2 separate regions of the Homo sapiens genome follow, and region 1 is linked to region 2. The links are contacts of gene promoters, found by promoter capture Hi-C in human tissues and cell types (Jung and others, 2019). All regions are on one chromosome and are shown on one strand. Each heading gives the region's core, a stretch centred on a gene start or on the middle of the fragment in contact. The rest is flanking DNA. Distances are from core to core; before and after follow the strand shown.

Evidence for each region. Contacts are between HindIII fragments. The study calls those that stand out against the background at their distance.
Region 1: a contact is called between a fragment that was not itself captured here and the fragment with the promoter of HCAR3 in region 2, in 2 of the 25 tissues and cell types used here (IMR-90 fibroblasts and mesenchymal stem cells).

Annotation. Positions count from the first base shown.
Region 1 is chr12:122,574,747-122,578,982 of GRCh38, reverse strand. KNTC1 (kinetochore associated 1) reads right to left here. Exons shown (of 64, transcript NM_014708.6): 28 at 3,337-3,440; 29 at 3,084-3,183; 30 at 1,954-2,088; 31 at 1,192-1,311. Among named protein-coding and RNA genes, the nearest start is that of KNTC1, 50 kb to the right of the region's middle. The HindIII fragment of the contact is 4,952 bases long and covers 1-3,785 here.
Region 2 is chr12:122,715,439-122,719,987 of GRCh38, reverse strand. HCAR3 (hydroxycarboxylic acid receptor 3) reads left to right here and starts at 3,177. Exons shown (of 1, transcript NM_006018.3): 1 at 3,177-4,549. The coding sequence starts at 3,251. The coding sequence ends at 4,414. The HindIII fragment of the contact is 11,637 bases long and covers 1-4,549 here.

The DNA of each region.
Region 1 (4,236 bases), core at 60-2,559, 140 kb after region 2:
CCCTTTCTAACAACCTTGGAAAAAAGTCATTTACTTTCATATTTTGGTTTTTGAACTTAATACATAAGGAGACAACAATAGGAACTACTTTACACCTTTGTTATGAACAAGAAGTAGCTATTTAACCTAATGCCTATTGCATAGCAAATATTAGGTGTTAAAAACAACAATAACTTCATTTTCCAACAGCAAAAAACATTACTGAAATGGACTGAGAGAAGTTGGGAGGTATCTATCCTTAGGGGTTTAAAAATCCAACTATTGGCCAAGTGTGGTGGCTCACACCTGTAATCCTAGCACTTTGGAAGGCCGAGGCAGGCAGATCAGTTGGCGTCAGGAGTTTGAGACCAGCCTGGCCAACATGGTGAAACCCGTCTCTAGTAAAAATACATAAATTAGCCAGGTGTGGTGGCGGACGCCTGTAATCCCAGCTACTCCCAGCTGAGGCAGGAGAATCGCTTCAACCTGAGAGGCAGAGGTTGCAGTGAGTTAAGATCGCGCCACTGTGCTCCAGCCTGAGCAACAGAGCAAGACTCTTGTCTCAAAAAAGAAAAGAAAAGAAAAAAAAAACCCAACTATTGAGCATGGTGGTGCATGCCTGTAATCCCAGCTACTTGGGAGGCTAAGGCTAGAAGAGAACTTAAACTCAGGAGTTCAAGACCAGCCTGGGCAACATACCAAGACCTCATCTCCTATATATAATATTTAAAAAAAGAGAAAAAATTAAAAATCAGTAAGAATCCAGCTATTCTGGAAAAACCAAGTATTCCTCATCTGCAAAAAAGTAAACTCTCTTAAAACCATTTCTAAGTTTCAATGTTATAAGATTATATAGATTTATATTGGTTTTGTAGCTGACATTACTATTTGACAATAATTATGTCCTATATAACACAAAACATTGTTTATATTGCAACGCTTTATAGAAACCTTTCGTGTACAACAGCTGCTCCAAGACACCTGCTAACCCACAGCTCCCAGGTCATTCTCTGTGGGCTCAAGCAGCCGCTCCAAGGCAGCCACAATTGTTTTTTTTCTCCTAGTAGTAAATTTACCCAGGAATTTTTTCACTAGGCCACCCTAGCAGTGAGAAGAGCAGATCTTCATATGTGTAAGTCCATCTTTTCTATCCTATTGATTAATAGCCATAAAAATTGGATTTACTTATATTTTACTTAGTGAAAATGTCACCTCTTTAGAATGATCTGGCTCTTCTTGTAATGCCAGTCGTGCCCATATGATGACTCTTTCTGCAGTTTTCTCAGCTTCAGCAGGAGGCAAAGACTTCAACAGAAGGAGACAGTCTTCACCCTATAAACAGGGTTTGAAAGGAAGAAAAAACAGCTGGTATTTGCAAAGGACGGTGTGGCCTTACCTCTTTCTTTTCTATTTAAAGATGAAAATACATCATTTGGAAAAACAGATTATGGTTCAATGTTTTAATAATCCGAAAATCCATTTTTATTTTATTTTACTTTAAGTTTCAGGGTACATGTGCAGGAAGTGCAGGCTTGTTACATGTGCCATGGTGGTTTGCTGTACCCATCAACCTGTCATGCACATTTTAAGCCCTGCATGCATCAGCTATCCATCCTGATGCTGAAAATCCATTTTTGATGACAGCAAACAATAAAATAAATTTAAAATACGATCCTAGATACTGAAGAGTTAATTCCTAGGCATTGCTATGATTATAGAATCATATAAAAATAATGACATTTAAAAACACAACAGGCCAAGCATGGTAGCTCACACCAGTAATCTCAGCACTTTGGGAGGCTAAGGCAGGTGGATTACTTCAGGTTGAGAGTTTGAGACCAGCGTGACCAACATGGTGAAACACAGCCACTGCACTCCAGCCTGGGCAATGGAGCGAGACCCTGTCTCAAAAAACAACAACAACAACACAGAAACAAAGAAGCCATATGAAATGACAACATAAAACTTACAAACCTGTTCTCTATCAATCAGGTCAATAATTCTTAGACTGTAGATCTCATCATCAGATAACATAAACGCTTGGGCTACCTTTAAAGCATCTTCTAAAGAAGATGGGACATCTTGTTTGAGAATGTATCTAACCACTCTCTGCAAAAGACAATATGAACATTTCTTTGTTATAGAACTCACAGAAAACCAAGAAATCACTTGCTTATAAGAGCAAAGTGGCAAAAAAATTTAAATAATGCAGCAAAAAACTAAATTGTATGAAAGATTAAAACATGATTTATATTCTGATCATTCCACAGTCCTGTCTTCTTTCTTCTACAGCTTCTTAATTTACTATTTGGTGTCTTTTTTTTGAGACAGAGTCTCCCTCTGTCGCCAGGCTACAGTGCAGTGGCGCAATCTCGGCTCACTGCAACCTCTGCCTCCCAGGTTCAAGTGATTCTCCTCCCTCAGCCTCCCAAGTAGCTGGGACTACAGGCACATGCCACCACACCCTGCTAATTTTTTTGCATTTTTAGCAGAGACGGAGTTTTACCATGTTGGCCAGAATGGTCTTGATCTCTTGACCTCATGATCCACCCACCTTGGCCTCCCAAAGTGCTGGGATTACGGGTGTGAGCCACCGCACCTGGCCTATTTGGTGTCTTTAATACTCTCATAAAAAGCCCAGGAGCGGTAGCTCACGCCTGTAATCCCAACACTATGGGAGGCCGAGGCAGGCAGATCACCTGAGGTCGGGAGCTCAAGACCAACCAGCCTGACCAACATGGAGAAACCCCATCTCTACTAAAAATACAAAAAAAAAATTAGCCAAGCGTGGTAGTGCATGCCTGTAATCCCAGCTACTCAGGAGGCTGAGGCAGGAAAATCACTTGAACCCAGAAGGCGGAGGTTGTGGTGAGCCGAGATCGCGCCATTGCACTCCAGCCTGGGCGGCAAGAGCGAAACTCCATGTCAAAAAGAATAAATACTCTCATAAATAACTGAACACCTTATTAACATCATATCTAACAAAAGAAATGTAGTGGAAAAACCTAGCTCTATTAGCCTCCTAGAATATAAATTCCTCATTAAGCTTTCCATATTGCCCCAGAAATGAAAGAGAAAAAAGACTCTTCGAAGAGTGTACTTACCATTATTTCCTTGTTTAAGAGATTTACCTCTCTTATTCCATAGCCTCGTAAAAGTTTTTTCATCTCCATTAGTTTGTAACTTTCCTGTAATAACTTGACTCTGAAAGCAAATTTACCCATATTAACATGGATTGTCTTTTTTATGAAGTACTATGGGACACAGCAAACAATATAGAAACATAAATGAACGTCAACTCAAAACACAATGTTTCTCCAGAGCATAACAACATTGTTTCGTAGACAGTCATCTTACTTGGGATGGTCCATTTCCAGGTGCTGTTTCACCAGTTGCTCCACAGCTGCACTCCAAGGAACCACTGCCGCATACATGATCTTGAGCACGGCATCAAATATGAGCTACAAAAGATGCACGCATGGACAAGGAACAGCCCTCAGGTTTACGATGCATGCAAGTGAACAGCACAGTCTAATCAGCAGGTCTTACATCAACCACATGGTAGTTTGAGAATATTTCATCCACTCACTGGAAAACCATTTATTTCTTCAGTTTTCACATATAGAGAACAATTTGACTATTCAGAAAAATTCAGAAGAGTATTTTTTCTGCTGTAAGCTAAGACATACAGCGTTATTGCTTTCTACGGTCTCTACAATCCCTGGGTTTTTTTTGTTTTTTTGAGGCAGGGTCATGTTCCCATTGCCCAGGCTGGAGTGCAGTGGCGCGATCTCAGCTCACTGCAACCTCCACCTCCTGGGTTCAAGCGATTCTCCCACCTCAGGCTCCCAAGTAGCTTGGACTACAGGCAAGCACCACCACACCTGGCTAATTTTTGTATTTTCTGTAGAGATGCGGTTCCACCATGTTGCCCAGGCAGGTCTCAAATTCCTGAGCTCAGGTGATCTGTCTGCCTTGGCTTCCAAAAGTGCTGGGATTACAGGCATGAGCCACTGTGTCCAGCCTCAGTCTCTGGTTTAAAAACAGTTTTCATTATTTTATTTCTATTTTATAGTGGCAATAACAGTGTGAAGTTAAAATAAAGGCATATTACAATATATTAACAAATGTCTCACATTGCAGCGAATAACTGAAAAAGAAAAGTCTCCATGTTTGCATAACCACAGAAAAGCCTGCAAAGATATGCATACAACTGTCCATGGAGGTTCCCCTGGGGGTGGAAATGAGTAAACATTC
Region 2 (4,549 bases), core at 1,928-4,427:
CGTGAGCCACGGCGCCTGGCCTCTGTTTTTTTTTTTTTTTTTTCTAAACAGAGTTTCACTCTTGTTGCCCAGGCTGTAGTGCAATGGCGTCATCTCAGCTCACCGCAACCTCCGCCTCCTGGGTCCCAGTTCAAGCAGTTCTCCTGCCTCCGCTACTGAGTAGCTGGGATTACAGGCACGCGCCACCACACCCAGCTAAATTTTGTATTTTTAGTAGAGATCTGATTTCACCATGTTGACCAGGCTGGTATCAAACTCCTGACCTCGTGATCCGCCCACCTCAGCCTCCCAAAGTGCTGGGATTACAGGCGTGAGCCACTGTGCCCGGGTTTTTTTGTTTGTTTGTTTGTTTGTTTGGTGGAGTCTCGCTCTGTCACCCAGGCTGCAGTGCAGTGGCACAATCTTGGTTCACTGCAACCTCCAACTCCCTGGTTCAAGCGATTCTCCTGCCTCAGCCTCCCAAGTGGCTGGGATTACAGGCGCCCGCCACCACGCCCAGCTAATTTTTGTATACTTTAGTAGAGACGGGGTTTCACCATATTGGCCAAGATGGTCTGGATCTCCTGACCTTGTGATCCTCCCGTCTCGGCCTCCCAAAGTGTTGGGATTACAGGCGTGAGCCACCGCGCCCGGCCATGCTCTGCTCTTATGAGCTGGGTGGCCCTGAATATTTTATCCTCTCTGAGCTTCACTTTCCTCATTTGAAATCAGAATCAATAATAATACCTTCCACATGGGCTACAGTCAGAGTGAAACAAGCAACTATAAAAGCACTGAGCTCCTGGCTAACATGGTGAAACCCCATCTCTACTAAAAATACAAAAAATTAGCTAGGCGTGGTGGCGGGTGCCTGTAGTCCCAGCTACTCGGGAGGCTGAGGCAGCATGGCGTGAACCCAGGAGGCGGGGCTTGCAGTGAGGCGAGAGCGAGACTTTGTCTCAAAAAAAAAAAAGCACTGAGTATGGGTTCCAGCACATGGGAAGCTCTCTATAATGTAGGTGCCACCATCATCTTCATCATTGTCTTCATCTCACCTGGATCATCATCAAGTACTTGTAGTTCTATGGGAACCTAATATTAGGTCATCCTAACTCTAGTTTACTTGAAGACTCTATAAGCTCCTATTATTGAACCTGCGTTTGCAGCTAAAGAAATAAATTGACATCTTATGGCCGGCAGTGATGGTTCACACCTGTAAGCCCAGCACTTTGGGATGCCAAGGCGGGAGGATCACTTGAAGTCAGGAGTTCAAGACCAGCCTGGCCAAAATGGTGAAATCCATCTCTATTAAAAAATACAAAAATTAGCCAGGCACGGTGGCGGGCACCTGTAGTCTCAGCTACTTGGGAGGCTGAGGCAGGAGAATGACTGGAACCCAGGAGGCAGAGGTTGCAGTGAGCCACTGCACTCCAGCCTGGGCGATAGAGTGAAACTCCATCTCAAAAGAAAAAAAAAAAAAAAGGAAGAAATTTACATTATATAACTCAAAGTAGAAGCAACATAGTTTAGAAGTCTCCTGCATGGAAGAATTCATAAGACCAAAATATTAAAGGGAGAAAACATTCTATAGGATGACACCCAATCGCACTGACAAGCAGAGAAACAATGTGTGCAATGGTGTCCCGCTACAAGGCAGGGTTCCATGTCCTCTTAGGTCCTGTCACTCTAAGTTTAATTTTACAAAAATGGGGGCTTTAAAAATATCACATACTTAGTGGGGGAGGTTTTGCGTGTGTGGAGACAGAGTGCACAGGACCGTCCGTACTTTCTGCTCAATTTTGCTGTGAATCTAAAACTGCCCTAAAAAATAAAGTTCATTAAAAAAAAAAAATCACGGCCAGGCGCAGTGGCTCACGCCTGTAATCACAGCACTTTGGGAGACCGAGGCGGGTGGATCACAAGGTCAGGAGTTCGAGACCAGCCTGGCCAACACAGTGAAACCTCGTCTTTACTAAAAATACAAAAAATTAGCTGGGCGTGGTGGCGCACGCCTGTAGTCCCAGATACTCAGGAGGCTGAGGCAGAAGAATTGCTTGAACCTGGGAGGCGGAGGTTGCAGTGAGCTGAGATTGTTCCACCGTTCTCCAGCCTGGGTGACAGAGTGAGACTCTGTCTCAAAAAAAAAAAATCACATCCTAAGGTCCCAAGGACATAAAACAAGTTAGAGACCTCATCCAGTTTTTTGTTTGTTTCAGGGACCTGCAACCAACTTTCTTACTGACCAGTTTCCTGGGCTGTCTAGAACAGACAGCTTATGGGGTACTAACCCCATGCTCTATCCTAAGGTACCCCTCTTCATGCAGAGCGACACAGAAAAACAAATTTGTAGCACAAAGTACACCCGATTTGCTACAGCTTACAACTAGCCTCATGAATCCTTTTCTCATTAATTCAAAGTTTGCAAAAAAAAGAAATCACATACTTAAATCACTTGAGCACAGAAGCATATCAAAATCTAATATAAACAAACAAAAAACCCAACTTATTTTAACATGCCACTGAAACTGGGCTCAAGTTTTCAAACATCTTATGAAATATTACACTCTCCAGCAGGCTTTTTTTTTTTTCCTAACTGGAGATGAATGGCAGAGTTCTGATATGGAAAAGCACTCCATGTTTGTACAGAAAGGTAGCATAGGAAAAGTGGTCAAATTCAACCAGTCTGTCCTCATCAAACAGGCAACTACTGTCTTCTCAGCATTTCCAAAAGAAATCATATGCCTGCTACTGTTTATGTCATATGCCTGTTAATTTTTCATGCTAATTCTTAGTGTTTCTGGAAAACCTCACTGTTTGGCACCAAAAATTATTATTGCTATTGTTGTTGTTTTGTTAATTATGTCAGCCAAGCAGATGACGGTGAATTAATTCTGCAACGTTGAGTACTCAGTTGGCATACAAGCACCCAGCCTTCCAAAGGGATGTCCTTCATGTTTCACTGATTTTCGAATGACAGTCAGCTTGCCTAAACTTATCCTTTACATTTAAGACATTTGGTGGGTTCCTGTATGCCCAGGGGATTTTTATTATTTGTTTATGCAAACAGCAGGTTGCATAAGAGCCTTGCTGGCTTTTTTTTTTTTTTTTTTAGAGATTTCGTAGTTTCCTGATAACCATTCAGTCATCTATTTCAACACCCTGACATGACATAAAGGCAGGCACGGAACCACACGTTCACCATACAGACACACGCCACTTTGCTGGAGCATTCACTAGGCGAGGCGCTCCATCGGACTCACTAGCTGCACTCATGAATCGGCACCATCTGCAGGATCACTTTCTGGAAATAGACAAGAAGAACTGCTGTGTGTTCCGAGATGACTTCATTGCCAAGGTGTTGCCGCCGGTGTTGGGGCTGGAGTTTATCTTTGGGCTTCTGGGCAATGGCCTTGCCCTGTGGATTTTCTGTTTCCACCTCAAGTCCTGGAAATCCAGCCGGATTTTCCTGTTCAACCTGGCAGTAGCTGACTTTCTACTGATCATCTGCCTGCCGTTCGTGATGGACTACTATGTGCGGCGTTCAGACTGGAAGTTTGGGGACATCCCTTGCCGGCTGGTGCTCTTCATGTTTGCCATGAACCGCCAGGGCAGCATCATATTCCTCACGGTGGTGGCGGTAGACAGGTATTTCCGGGTGGTCCATCCCCACCACGCCCTGAACAAGATCTCCAATTGGACAGCAGCCATCATCTCTTGCCTTCTGTGGGGCATCACTGTTGGCCTAACAGTCCACCTCCTGAAGAAGAAGTTGCTGATCCAGAATGGCACTGCAAATGTGTGCATCAGCTTCAGCATCTGCCATACCTTCCGGTGGCACGAAGCTATGTTCCTCCTGGAGTTCTTCCTGCCCCTGGGCATCATCCTGTTCTGCTCAGCCAGAATTATCTGGAGCCTGCGGCAGAGACAAATGGACCGGCATGCCAAGATCAAGAGAGCCATCACCTTCATCATGGTGGTGGCCATCGTCTTTGTCATCTGCTTCCTTCCCAGCGTGGTTGTGCGGATCCACATCTTCTGGCTCCTGCACACTTCGGGCACGCAGAATTGTGAAGTGTACCGCTCGGTGGACCTGGCGTTCTTTATCACTCTCAGCTTCACCTACATGAACAGCATGCTGGACCCCGTGGTGTACTACTTCTCCAGCCCATCCTTTCCCAACTTCTTCTCCACTTTGATCAACCGCTGCCTCCAGAGGAAGATAACAGGTGAGCCAGATAATAACCGCAGCACGAGCGTCGAGCTCACAGGGGACCCCAACAAAACCAGAGGCGCTCCAGAGGCGTTAATCGCCAACTCCGGTGAGCCATGGAGCCCCTCTTATCTGGGCCCAACCTCAAATAACCATTCCAAGAAGGGACATTGTCACCAAGAACCAGCATCTCTGGAGAAACAGTTGGGCTGTTGCATCGAGTAATGTCACTGGACTCGGCCTAAGATTTCCTGGAACTTCCAGATTCAGAGAATCTGATTTAGGGAAACTGTGGCAGATGAGTGGGAGACTGGTTGCAAGGTGTGACCGCAGGAATCCTGGAGGAACAGAGAGTAAAGC